2 separate regions of the Homo sapiens genome follow, and region 1 is linked to region 2. The links are contacts of gene promoters, found by promoter capture Hi-C in blood cells and fetal thymus (Javierre and others, 2016). All regions are on one chromosome and are shown on one strand. Each heading gives the region's core, a stretch centred on a gene start or on the middle of the fragment in contact. The rest is flanking DNA. Distances are from core to core; before and after follow the strand shown.

Region 1 (5,772 bases), core at 2,994-5,493, 86 kb before region 2:
TAAGAAGTAAATTGAATTATAATAACTAAAAGCAACTGGGAACCCCGGAATTCCTTCAGCAGATCAGATGTTTGCTTAGAAAGGGCACTCTAGTAACTGTAGAGAATCGATGGGAAGGAAGCCGACCTGGAAGAGACAGGCGAGGTGGCAGAGCAATAGGACAGGCAATCAGTGTTGATGGCCTGCACCAGGGCAATGCTGCAGACATGTGGAGAAACGCAGACCAGTGATGTTCTGGGGTAGAATCCACAAGTGGTGACTGCAGTGAGCAGTTAGGCTGGGGTCAGGGGATGATATCCTGCTGGTTTGAGTGACTGAGTGTACAGGAGAGTATGCCTTACATTCCTATCCAGGAAGGGAACATGAAGCTGCCTAGAGAAATACATGAGTTTGGGTTTGTCTTGCTTAGTATCAAGTAATTCTGAGCACCCAGGGAGAGATGATATATAGATAGTTCAATATAGAAAAATACATGTTGGTGAATTTCTACATATAATGGAGGCTATATATCTTTGTGGTTAAGTGCATAGGTTTTGGAGTCAGCCTGCCCAGGACTTGATTCCAGCTCTATCGTTTACTAGACTGGTGGCCCTCAGGAGGTCATTTCATCTCTCCAATACTCAGATTTCCTGGGGATAGTGCCAGCTACTTCATGAGATATCATGCACATAGCATGGTATTTAGCAGAGAAAGTATTGAGAAAGAGCAGCTCTATCTACACGACCTAAGTCTGGGGAATGGATCCAAGTGACGAGACAGGAAGAGCAAAAGCAAAGCCCTACATAGCAGCCACAGTAAAGAAAGGGACAGAACACAAGGAGTAGTGAAATAGGACAAGAAGAAATTGTCAAAGGAGTAAAGGGAGAATCAGGAGGGAGAGACATCGTAAACAAAAGGAATGAAAATTTCGAGATAAGACTTAGATCCCTATAAACTAATGTTAAAAGAAACCCTCCAAATTAGCATAAAAAGATGGCGAATAATATGAATAGCAAATAAAAAGTCTGTAATTATATCATTCTACCTATCTATCCATATGCAAATATACAGAAAAATCTGGAAGTATGCACTCCAAACTGTTACCAGTAAATACTTCTGAGGAAGTAAATGGGCTTGGGGAATAAAGGGGGAGGGGGTGGAACTATAACTCTTTACTTTTGTATTGTCTGAATTTTTTTTTTTTTTTTTTTTTTTAGGGAACTTGCTTTTATGTATTACTGGTGTAATTCAAAAGTAAGTATTAAATATGAACAGAAAGTTGAAGTTATATAAGGAAAGAAAAGCTTTGGAAATTCATTGTTGACCCAGGTGACAACAGTTATAGTAGAGTAGGGACAAAACCCACCAGGAAGAGCTGGAGAGAGGAAGAGCTGCGTGCCTAGGAGAGCAACCGAACCATTTCTTCAAGAAGCCGGGCTGCATGTGCAAGAGAAGACAGTAGCTAGAGGAGTATTCAGTGCCAAGAAAAGGCTTTAATTTCTCTTACAAGACAGGAGAGATTTTTAGGAGATCCAAAAAATACAGGAAAAAAAGGTAAGGAGCGAGGAATAAACAGACTGGAAATATAAGAGAGAAATGGAATAAGTAATGGAGCAAGAAATCAGAGAGAGAGCTCAAAGTAGAAATTTGTCTTGAACCGGGGATGGTTCTCCTGGAGCAGGCAAAGAGAATCATGAGGATGGCTCCCTCCTGCAGGTGAGATGGTGTGCGCATGAGGACGGGGCACCTGCCCGGTGAGTGTAGGCAGAAGGTCTGACTGCCTTTTCAGCTGGATGCTAAATGTGCAAGACAAGCACTTGAAACAAAAACACTGAGAAGTTGGAAAGACAGCTGACGAAAGTATTAACAAAGTATTAAAATAAGAAAATTCAAGCCCGACTTTTCCCTATAGAAAACAATTGTAACCATCAAATCAAGTGAAATATTTCACAGTTTAGTAGTTTAGTAGTATCCCTTCTCTTTCATGTTGCACTCTGTAGGCTGTAAAAGGAAAAAAAATGTTGAATTATCTTTCATTGTGGCAAATATGAAGGCAAAGCCCTGACAGAATTTCTTAGCAAATAATAATAATAATACCTTAAATGAACAAAATCCACATTTTCATCTTTAAAGTAGTGACAGTTTTACTGTTACAGGAAGAATACAAACTATGGTGTTGGATTGCTTTAGGCTATAACATCACTGTCCATCTCTAATTTTTCTAGTCTTGTGATGTTGCTGTGACACATGAAACATTTTCAGCTTTTCTATGTCATCACTCTTCTCTGATTTGTGAGGGATTTCTCTCTGTGTGCATTCTCTAAAGGGCTGATTTTAAGGGGAGGATATGATATACACAGCAGCCTTTAGTGCTGTACAGATTTTTATACTATATACCTTGCTGCAAATTAAGCCTTTTTCCAAGGATGAGACCACAAGCATTAGGTTCTGGGTGTTTGGTGCAGCTACCACACTGTGTGTGTGTGCATGTGTGTGTATTTTAAGGGAGAGAGAGAATGAACAACAGCTGTCTCAGACACAGGTAATCAAAAAGACTAAACATTAAAAACAGATCCAAGAGGCTGCATTACAGCTTTCTTTACTGGAAAAGAGAATAAGGCTTAATTGAAAGGTTTAACTGGATGATAAAGTCTCTCTGCTCGTCAGGTTGGAGACTGACAGGGTGAAACAAAGGGTTAGGTCAGGCCCTTGCCAAACACCATCTGACTGTGAGCTTTATGGAGTGGAAACATATTCCTTTTTGTAATTCTTTTTTCCTTTTGTATGCTCTGCCCTTAAAGGAAAACCTACGATCTGCCTGCTCAAGATACACCCTGAGGGGAGGGAAGAGAATCGAGGTGGAGATTTGAGCAGGTTCAGCTGAAGAAATCAGAAAGCAGGCAAAAGATAGTGGGACAGTTTCAAACACAGGACACACAAGCCATCTGCAGGGTGTGCAAAGCTACACACATTCAACAGTGCTCTGTGCTAGGCTCAACATTCTCAATATCTGTTTTCCCAATCCCTCCACCTTGGTAGAAACCCAAACTCTCCTCCCTCCTCAGGATACACCTTACTTCTCTATCAGCCCCCTGGATACTCATTCTCTCATACCCCACACGCCAAGGGATCAATTCAGTGTCTCACAGTTTCCTTCCTTTCCCAGCGATAATCATACTCTTCCAATTTCCAGCAGAAATTGCCCAACATTTCCTGGCCAATGCTCATCATCTTTGCCCACAAACCTGTCCTCATTCATCATTTCTTCTCCCAAAGAGTGACACCGTCCAAGCTAGGGGCCTGAGAGATGTGTTAGATGCCACCCTAGTCTAATACTGCTCAAATCCAGATAGTCACAAAGTCCCTTGAAGTCTACCCCCTACATCTCTGGAGAACCTTCCTCGTTTCTTCCCAAATGTCATAGTCTAGGTCCTGTGGGTATTAGGCTTAGTCAAGGATGGGAAGACCCTTGGAAGATATACAACTGGATCCATGTCCAGGCCATGACTATCTCCTAACTGCTGATACTTTGCTTGGTCCATGTTCTAGCAGATGAAACATTGAAGAGTTGTCTTTTCAGCTAACAAGCCCTAAGGACTCACAATCAACCAGGTCAGTTTTTGATTGTCCTAGTGTCTACAACTAAATCAACCATGATGGACACTTATGGACAAGAAAACAAAGAAGAAATATCAGGTTATTTTTTATGTCCAGAGTTCCATACTCAAGTAGCAACCACATAAAATAAGCATAGACTTAACTACTATGAAAAGGCTCTGGCCTCAACTCAACCAGACAAAAACAAGACTGGGTCTCGGTAGCAGCGTCCCCTGAACTAGTGCCATAACATGTGGTAAAATGATATCCTAAATGTGCCCGTGTTCTAGAAATGCAGTATTGGCCAATGGTAAGCAAAACATTAAAATGAGCTTCTTGGACTGGTCAAAGCTTCAAAATGAAAAATGTTAATTCCAAAACGATTTTTTTTTTCTGGGCCAGATCTAAAGGAGAAAACATGCAATGGGACATCCCAGAAAATGACCCTAAGATTCTCTGAAGGCAAAGTGGGGCAAGTAGATTCTGCTCTGAGATACGAAAGCCAACAGAACAATGTGATGTTCATAGCACACAAAGACAGCACACCCAGGCTGGTACTGAAAAGCCATCCCAGGAAAACAAAAGTAAATGAGAGAAGGGGTTCTGAGCAGTCTTTGTATCTAAGTGGCATCTACAGGAGGATTTGTAGCTCAGAAAAGAACATCTCATGCTAAACTAATCAAAAGTTTTGATTTTTTAAAAAAGGATCAATAAAACCATAAATATTGAGTATTTAAAACTTTTATATTAGAAAGGCAGCAGTACTGAATTAATGCCATCAGACTGTCTTTCGAGGGTGAAATGTTAAGTCAACCAACCATAATTAATTAATTGTGTTTTATTACAATGCCAAGCAAAAATGGCTGATAATTCTTGCTCTGAATCAGCTTCATTAACTTTCTGGCTTTGTTCATACATGAACAAAATCAAGGTGAATTTTGCAGATCCAAGTTTAAACCAAAAACTCAACTTAATCAAGCTTAGATAAAAAAGTTTTCTTCCCTGATTTAGAAAACAAAAATTTAAGAAATATCTCAATGCAAAACAGAAAATATAAAAACACAGTATAAAGCAGTCAGATTAAAAGAAATTATCAAAGAACCCAGTCCTAGGTCTCAAGTCAAGGGAAAAGCAAACCTAATGGACCAAAAAGTCAAAACATCAAGGGAAAAAGTCAATTATTAACCAAATCTTCAAATCTAAAAAGAAAAGAATTTTCACCATTGTATCATCTAAACCACTTAAGTGGTTTCTAAAGTCTGTCTCCTGACAACATCACACATGCCCTGGTTTTGACTGTATGTCAAACACCACCAAATAATTACTGACTCAGTTTCCTGTAGATGATAAAATGCATTCCTGGGACAGAAAAAAAGATTTCTTACTTGGAATCTAATCATCTTTAAAGCAATTTGCATTATTTGTGTTTGGTTCACCAAGATATTTGCTTGACAACTACAAAGGCATTTGGGCTACTGATGGTGCCTGCTCTCCTGGAATGAAAAAGATAGGAAAACAGGCATGTTTTAAATTATGTATTTTAACTCCTAGGTAGAAAGGAATAGAGATTGTAGAAAGGAAAAGATTGTGTCTGGAAATGACCCAAGGGCTCTACCTTGCCAGCTTGATGCTTCTTTCATCTTTGAAGGCCTGACTTTCTTTCTACAGCAAGTCATTCTGCATTAGTCCTAAGTCTGGATCAAAACCCTCAAACAGAGAGCACCAAGAGCAAGGACGGCTGAACCATGTGCCGGGGTCATGATGACTCGTGGCAAGCTCTCCTGGGGTCCACATGGAGAGTGGCACTTAGTTGCCAGCCCCATGCATCTCAGAGAAAGAAAAGGAACTGAAATATTTTGCAAATAACATCTTCTACTCTCAACCCTAGTCTCACATTAATCTACTTTCGTCTTTGAATGAGGAAAAGAAAAAAAAAATAGAACAAGAAAAGACTGTAGTGATAAAGAGGATAACGAAGATAAGTACAATATTGAACATTAGCTAAAGGTTCTGAAGTCCAAACCCAATTCAACTTGGGTTTGAATCCCAGATCTGCAGCTTAACAACTTTGTGTTAGAACTTGGCCAATATGCCTGTCACAAATTTTTGTTTTCTCCTCTGTAAAATGGGGATAATAATATCCTATTAGCTTATTGTGAAGAATAAAAAAAGATAAGTACATAAAACACTTGGCAC
Region 2 (5,703 bases), core at 957-3,456:
AAATAATTTGAGATTAAGTAAATGATATATATCCTGAGTAATTTAAAATACCCTATTCTACTTTAGACATAATAACATTTAGAAACCTATTCATTTTGGTTCCTGCGGGGCCTTGGAACACATACCTTAAAAAAAATCCCACCAATAGAATGTTACTTATATATATTCCTGAAAAAAAATGTTTCCTCAAAACTCTTCTCCCAATTTAAATTCTAAAATGCATGACTTGAAATTTATGTTTATATTTCTAGTATCTATATCTATAAAGTTGGAAATCAGTTTTTCAAATGACTCTGAACAAGCCCTCAGAAACTAAAGAGCATATTTAAACTTTCAGATTTATAAGTGTTATAACAAGTTTAATCACTTAAGTCTGTTAATGATTTATAGTGAAAACAACTCAAACTTCCGGTCGGTCTAGTTTTAACTCCTCTTAATTTTACACATTGTTTTATGAGCCCCAAAGGGTTAGGTAGGCATCTTACGGATCACTCCATTGCTAGCACCTCCCACAGCCTCTGTGGTGTGCGGTAGATGCTGTCTGATCTGAACTCACATGGAAAATTCAGCTGCGAATATTTTTACGCAACAGCAAAAACAATCAGCCTTTTTCATATCAAGGTGGGGATTGAGAAGCTAAATGAGAACATTAGGGGCATAAAATTAGTCTGCTTTAACTTTAATAACCAAACGGTGATTGGAAACATACAAACTTTGTGTTTGCAGGAATGAGGGGCTGGGATCACTAAGACTTAAAGGGTTTTTCTCCCCCACCCCGCGACCATGAGCACACAGCAAAACTAATAAAATTATGACCCAGAATTAAAAGGTCGCATTCATTTTCAAAGCATTCATTTAAAAGTACAGAAGCGTTCTTTAAAAATGCCCACATTTTTAAACATAGCAAGAATGTGGCTACCAAATATTAATCCTGAGGAATATGAATACACATTTACCTTCATAATTACACCCAGCAGGTCAAATGTTAGCAAGGCCAACTGACCGAAATCACAAAGACTGATTGAAAATGACCAACAGAAAGTGTCTGTCCGGCTTGGGAGCCCCGCTTGTTCCCAGCCCAACCAGTGGTCAAACATCTGCAGGCAAAGAAATCTACACGCGCCAGCCGGGTATGGCAGAAATCAAACTTTTCCAAATAAGTTAGTTCCGTCTTGCCAATCTACACCCAACAGGTGTCAATACATGTCACCAGACAAAAATCTGGCGAGCCAGGTCTAGAGAAGCAATAGATGGTTGGCAGAGAAGCTGAAACGACTCGACCTCTACCAGGGTAATGAAAGCAAGTCGGGCCACTATTCTGACTGATCACTTGGCAGTGGGGTGGAGGGGTATGGAGATGGGAGAATCCCTGGATGAAGATCGGAAGGAGCGTGGAGATGTCCCGCCACTGGTGACGCGGGGGGATTTCGGAGCATAGTCCCCGCACTCTTTCACGACCCCCGACCCCTGATCCCCGGATTAGGACGGCAAGGGAGTGCGGCGATCAAGGCTGGGAGACCGCGGAGAGAAGGCGCGCGGTACCTGCTTGTCCAGCGCGTCTCGGACGCCTCCCTGCCCGGCGCCGGCCCTGGGTGGCGCGGGCGTTCGTTCGCAGCTGCAGCCCTCCAGGAGGTACATGCCCGCCGGGCGGCAGCTCTGCTCGCCCTCGAAGTAGAAGAGCACATTCTGGTAGAGGGCGAACCACTTCTCGTGCCAGCGGCTCGCCTCGGCCGTCTTCTTACTCAGGAAGCCGCGCTTGGTGCCCTCCTTGCGCGCCAGAAAGGCCAGGTACAGGGCGTGCCCCTCGTTGTAGCGCACGCTCTTCTGCATGGTGCGGGTGCGGAGGGCTCACGGGTGGCCGCCGGTCTCACCCCTGCCTCGCGGCCATGGCCCAGCTGGCTCCCTCGAGGGCGCGACCGCTCAGGTCCCGGCCGGCGAAGGGCGCCCCCTTTCCCCACGCCGCGCGCAGGGCACCCCGCCCGCTTTCGGGAGGCCGCGGCGCGCGGTGGCAGGGGCGCGGGCTGGGGCCGAGGCACGCTCTCCGCCCTAACCACCACCCTCCCGGCCGAGCCCCCGGAGCCCCCCAAGCCCCCAACGCCCGCGTGGAGCGCGGCCCCGCGAGGGCGCCCGAGCCGGCCGCCGCTTCGCCCAAAGTTGCGGGAGCCGAGCCCCCGCGGCGGGCTGGGGCGGCAGCCGGGGAAGGACTGTCCTCGGGCAACGCGCTCCGGGAGACAGAAGGTAAAACGTCACGTGGGAGCTCAGCTGTAATCGGCTTGGAGACCGATTTAAAGGGCAAAGTCGGCGCGGCGCCGGCGGTGGCGCAGCCCGCTTGCCCCGGCTCGCGTCCCTCCCTCGCCCGCCCCGGCCCGGGCCGCTGCCTCTGCTCGGGCGCCCGCCGGGATGGGGCGGATCAGGGAGGTGGAGGCGCCCGGCCGCACCACACACCCGCTCACACGCGCTCGCACACTCGCGCACAACGCGCGCACACACACACGCACACCCACACACACGCAGACCAGTACATTCACCCAGATCCACAATGCACACACTCAGACGCACAAAAATACACTCACAAATGCACACAAACACAATGCGCGCACATATGCACAAAAACACACGCGCACACACTCATGACACACAAATACACATTCTCACAACGCTCACACTCAACACACAGTCACAACGCACAAATGCATATAGACAAATACACCCACAATGTGCGTTCCCGCGCACAAAAATAAAACCCACATTCAGATACACACTTAAGGAGCTACACACATGCACGCAGTGATATGCTCACTTACACACACATTCACACACAACCCACACATTCACTCAAACCCACATTCAAACATACATTCATACACACATTACACTCATACAGTCACACAAACAGCACACATATACTCACACGTTCACAATCATACAGACTCATAAGCAGATAATCAAACACACACACAGATGAACACACATGTACATTCACAAATTCATCCAAAAATACACACAAAGCACTCACACACGTATTCGCACGAATCCACACACTTTCACAAACCCACTCACACATACACACACACTCACATGCCACATCCATAAGTACGTTCCCATGGCAGTAGGTAGAGTCACAGAGTGGCTTTGCATAGCCCGCATCCTTGGCTTTTCTGCTTGTACCTGCATTGTAGTATTTAAAACTGCCGGTAAAGGTTAAGGAGAGTGGCCCAAGTGTTCCCGGAAAGGCATCAGATGCCGAAGTTCTTTCGGAATGCCTGTTATTTCACAGTGGTAAGATGCTAAATTTTAAGTGCCGAGTTTTCAACCTGGAAAAAAATACCCAAATAAGGGACACTTTGCTGCCCAGGGCAGAATCCAACCCCAAAGGCCAGCTGTCACAGGCTCATCGTTTGTAGGACTGGATTCATTTGATTAACAAATCTGACAGGTACAACCAGAAAACCAAGAGCCACCCCCCCGCCCCAACCCCATGCTGTAAAAATGTAAGTGGAAAAGAAATAATGTAGCCAGCAGCTGTGAGAGAAAGCCAGTGAAACCCCCGGGGAGGGCCTATATTTGATTCTGCTATACACATTTTTTATTTTCCCCAGTCATTTATCACTAAAACGGAGTGCCATCATAAAATGTTTATTGTTAAAAGTAAATAATAATGCTTTTCTGGGTGATGAGTCTACGACAATACACCTGTCTTGTACTGCCAGTTGTGTGTTCATGAATTGGTAGCCCCAGGGGTTCTGCCTGTTTCATAAGTGCTGTTTCTGCAGAATATTTTAACTCTGCCTCACTGAGCAGCTGAGTGGGGTTTTTTTTTCCTTTTACCTTTTTAAAAAATTTTCACTTTTAACAAGTATATAGTAGGGAAATTGCCATTTTGAAATTACAGCGTGAGAACAGTGGTCATTTCTCTTTACGTTTTTAAAAATATCTAAAGGACAGTGCTGTGCTAAATTGGGTTTAACCCAGCTGGAAGTTTGCATTGTTCTTCAGAGAAGACACAAGTACAGAGACAGTAAGTAAATGCAGGCAACATTTTGGAGCCAGATTCTAGATGCAGAGGAGCTGGTGATTGCCTCAGGAGGCCTTTTATTTCTTTCTCTGTGGTCCAATCCCAGCTGTGAGAACCGTAAGTGAGTAGACACCTGTGTGGTTGATAAGCTCCATTTTTTTAGTAGAAACCAGTAAGAGTGTGAAATCAGCACAAAAACTATTTTGCCATGAGTAGTCAAACCTTCTAACGCACTTGAGTTTTTTCAGATGTGAAAGATTCTCTTCTTCAATAAGCAATGTCTCAGTTACCATCTCTGTCTCCTTAAATGTGCTTTTCATTTGAACCACATGAAATATTCACAACCTCTTGTCTGACATCACTTCCTACCACGGAAGGTTATGTGGCCCTTATATGCCACCCCATCTGCTCTGCCCCTGGACAATGAGAGAAAGGAGTGCTTGTTTCCTGCAAAATTTGGCTGGTGATTACCGTGGGTTTTGATTATGGAAATTCACTGCAAGAACCATTTATTGATCACTAGTTTATGTCCTCAACACTATATTTAGGTGATGTAGAGCATATAGAGAAAAAGCATTGCCTGTGTTCCTGGTGTGCTCAGTGTAAGAGGAAGAGAATTTCTTTCTTTCTTCTTTTCTTTCCCTTCCTCCCTCCCTCTCTCTCTCTCTCTCTCTCTCTCTCTCTCTCTCTGTCTCTTTCTCTCTCTCTTTCTTTCTTTTTTTCTTTAGAGAGAGGTTCTTCCTCTGTTGCCCAGGCTGAAGTCATAGCTCACTGCAGCCTCAAACTCCTGGGCTCCAGCAATCCTCCTGCCTCAGCCTCCAGCGTAGCTAAGACTATGGGTGTGCACTACCACACCTGGTTAGGTTTTGTTTACTTTTTGTAGAGACAGAGGTCTCACCATGTTACCCAGGCTGGTCTCAAACTCCTGGTCTCAAGTAACCCTCCTGCCTTGGCCTCCCAAAGTCCTGGGATTGTAAGTACGACACCACCCAGCCAGGAAGAAGATTAATGTTTAGGTGCTTCTTCTCACCTGTCTGTTTCTCAAGTGCCGAGCTATCTCTGTAATCCCTGTAGCACCCAGTAGGAGAGTTTATATGCAGTAGGCATACAAGTTTTTCAGACAATTATTTTCTAAATTAATTTCTTATTTGGTCATTGAATTGTTAAAGAGGGCATAAGCATTTGCAAATATTAGATCATTCTGCAAGATTGTAAGAGATGAAAACAACCAGACATTCCTGGACAGCCTAGAGAAGCTATCTCTATTAGGTGTCTGATGGGCACCTGGGGGCCTTTAGTCTCCATTCATATGGAAACCACATCCCTGGAATGGTGCCATCCTGAAACACAAAGGATCAGGAGTTTATGTAAATAAGAATGCTTTCCCCCAGCTGATCAAATAGATTGCCAAAAAGAGACTGCGTTCCAAGTGGATGGGAACAAGCTTCTCTGAATTCATTGTTTTTCCTTCTTGCATTGCGTGGATTCTTTCTTGAGCGGGCCAGTTTAAAAAAATTTTTTATGGGCAACAAAGCATATGATCACAGTGCAAGTGGCCTCTTTCCCCTTTTCTAGATAAGTTAAGAGGGGAAAAATAGCAATGAGCTGTCATACCTGGAAACTCTACTAAATAGAGAGGGAGACATTATTCAGATAATTTGATGAGAAAAGGAAGGAAGGGAGGGAAG

Evidence for each region. Contacts are between HindIII fragments. The CHiCAGO score rates a contact against its expected background, and 5 or more counts as called.
Region 1: a contact is called between a fragment that was not itself captured here and the fragment with the promoter of RASGRF2 in region 2, in 3 of 17 cell types (non-activated CD4 T cells, activated CD4 T cells and naive CD4 T cells). The highest score is 7.6, in non-activated CD4 T cells.

The regions. Positions count from the first base shown.
Region 1 is chr5:81,044,584-81,050,355 of GRCh38, reverse strand. The region is part of intron 2 of RASGRF2 (Ras protein specific guanine nucleotide releasing factor 2); the gene reads right to left. Among named protein-coding and RNA genes, the nearest start is that of RASGRF2-AS1, 87 kb to the right of the region's middle. The HindIII fragment of the contact is 628 bases long and covers 3,930-4,557 here.
Region 2 is chr5:80,956,866-80,962,568 of GRCh38, reverse strand. It overlaps RASGRF2 (Ras protein specific guanine nucleotide releasing factor 2), which reads right to left and starts at 2,206. Exons shown (of 27, transcript NM_006909.3): 1 at 1,543-2,206. The coding sequence starts at 1,830. It overlaps RASGRF2-AS1 (RASGRF2 antisense RNA 1), which reads left to right and starts at 1,662. Exons shown (of 4, transcript NR_105015.1): 1 at 1,662-1,788. RefSeq lists enhancers at 1,382-2,103, 5,194-5,703. The HindIII fragment of the contact is 16,452 bases long and covers 1-5,461 here.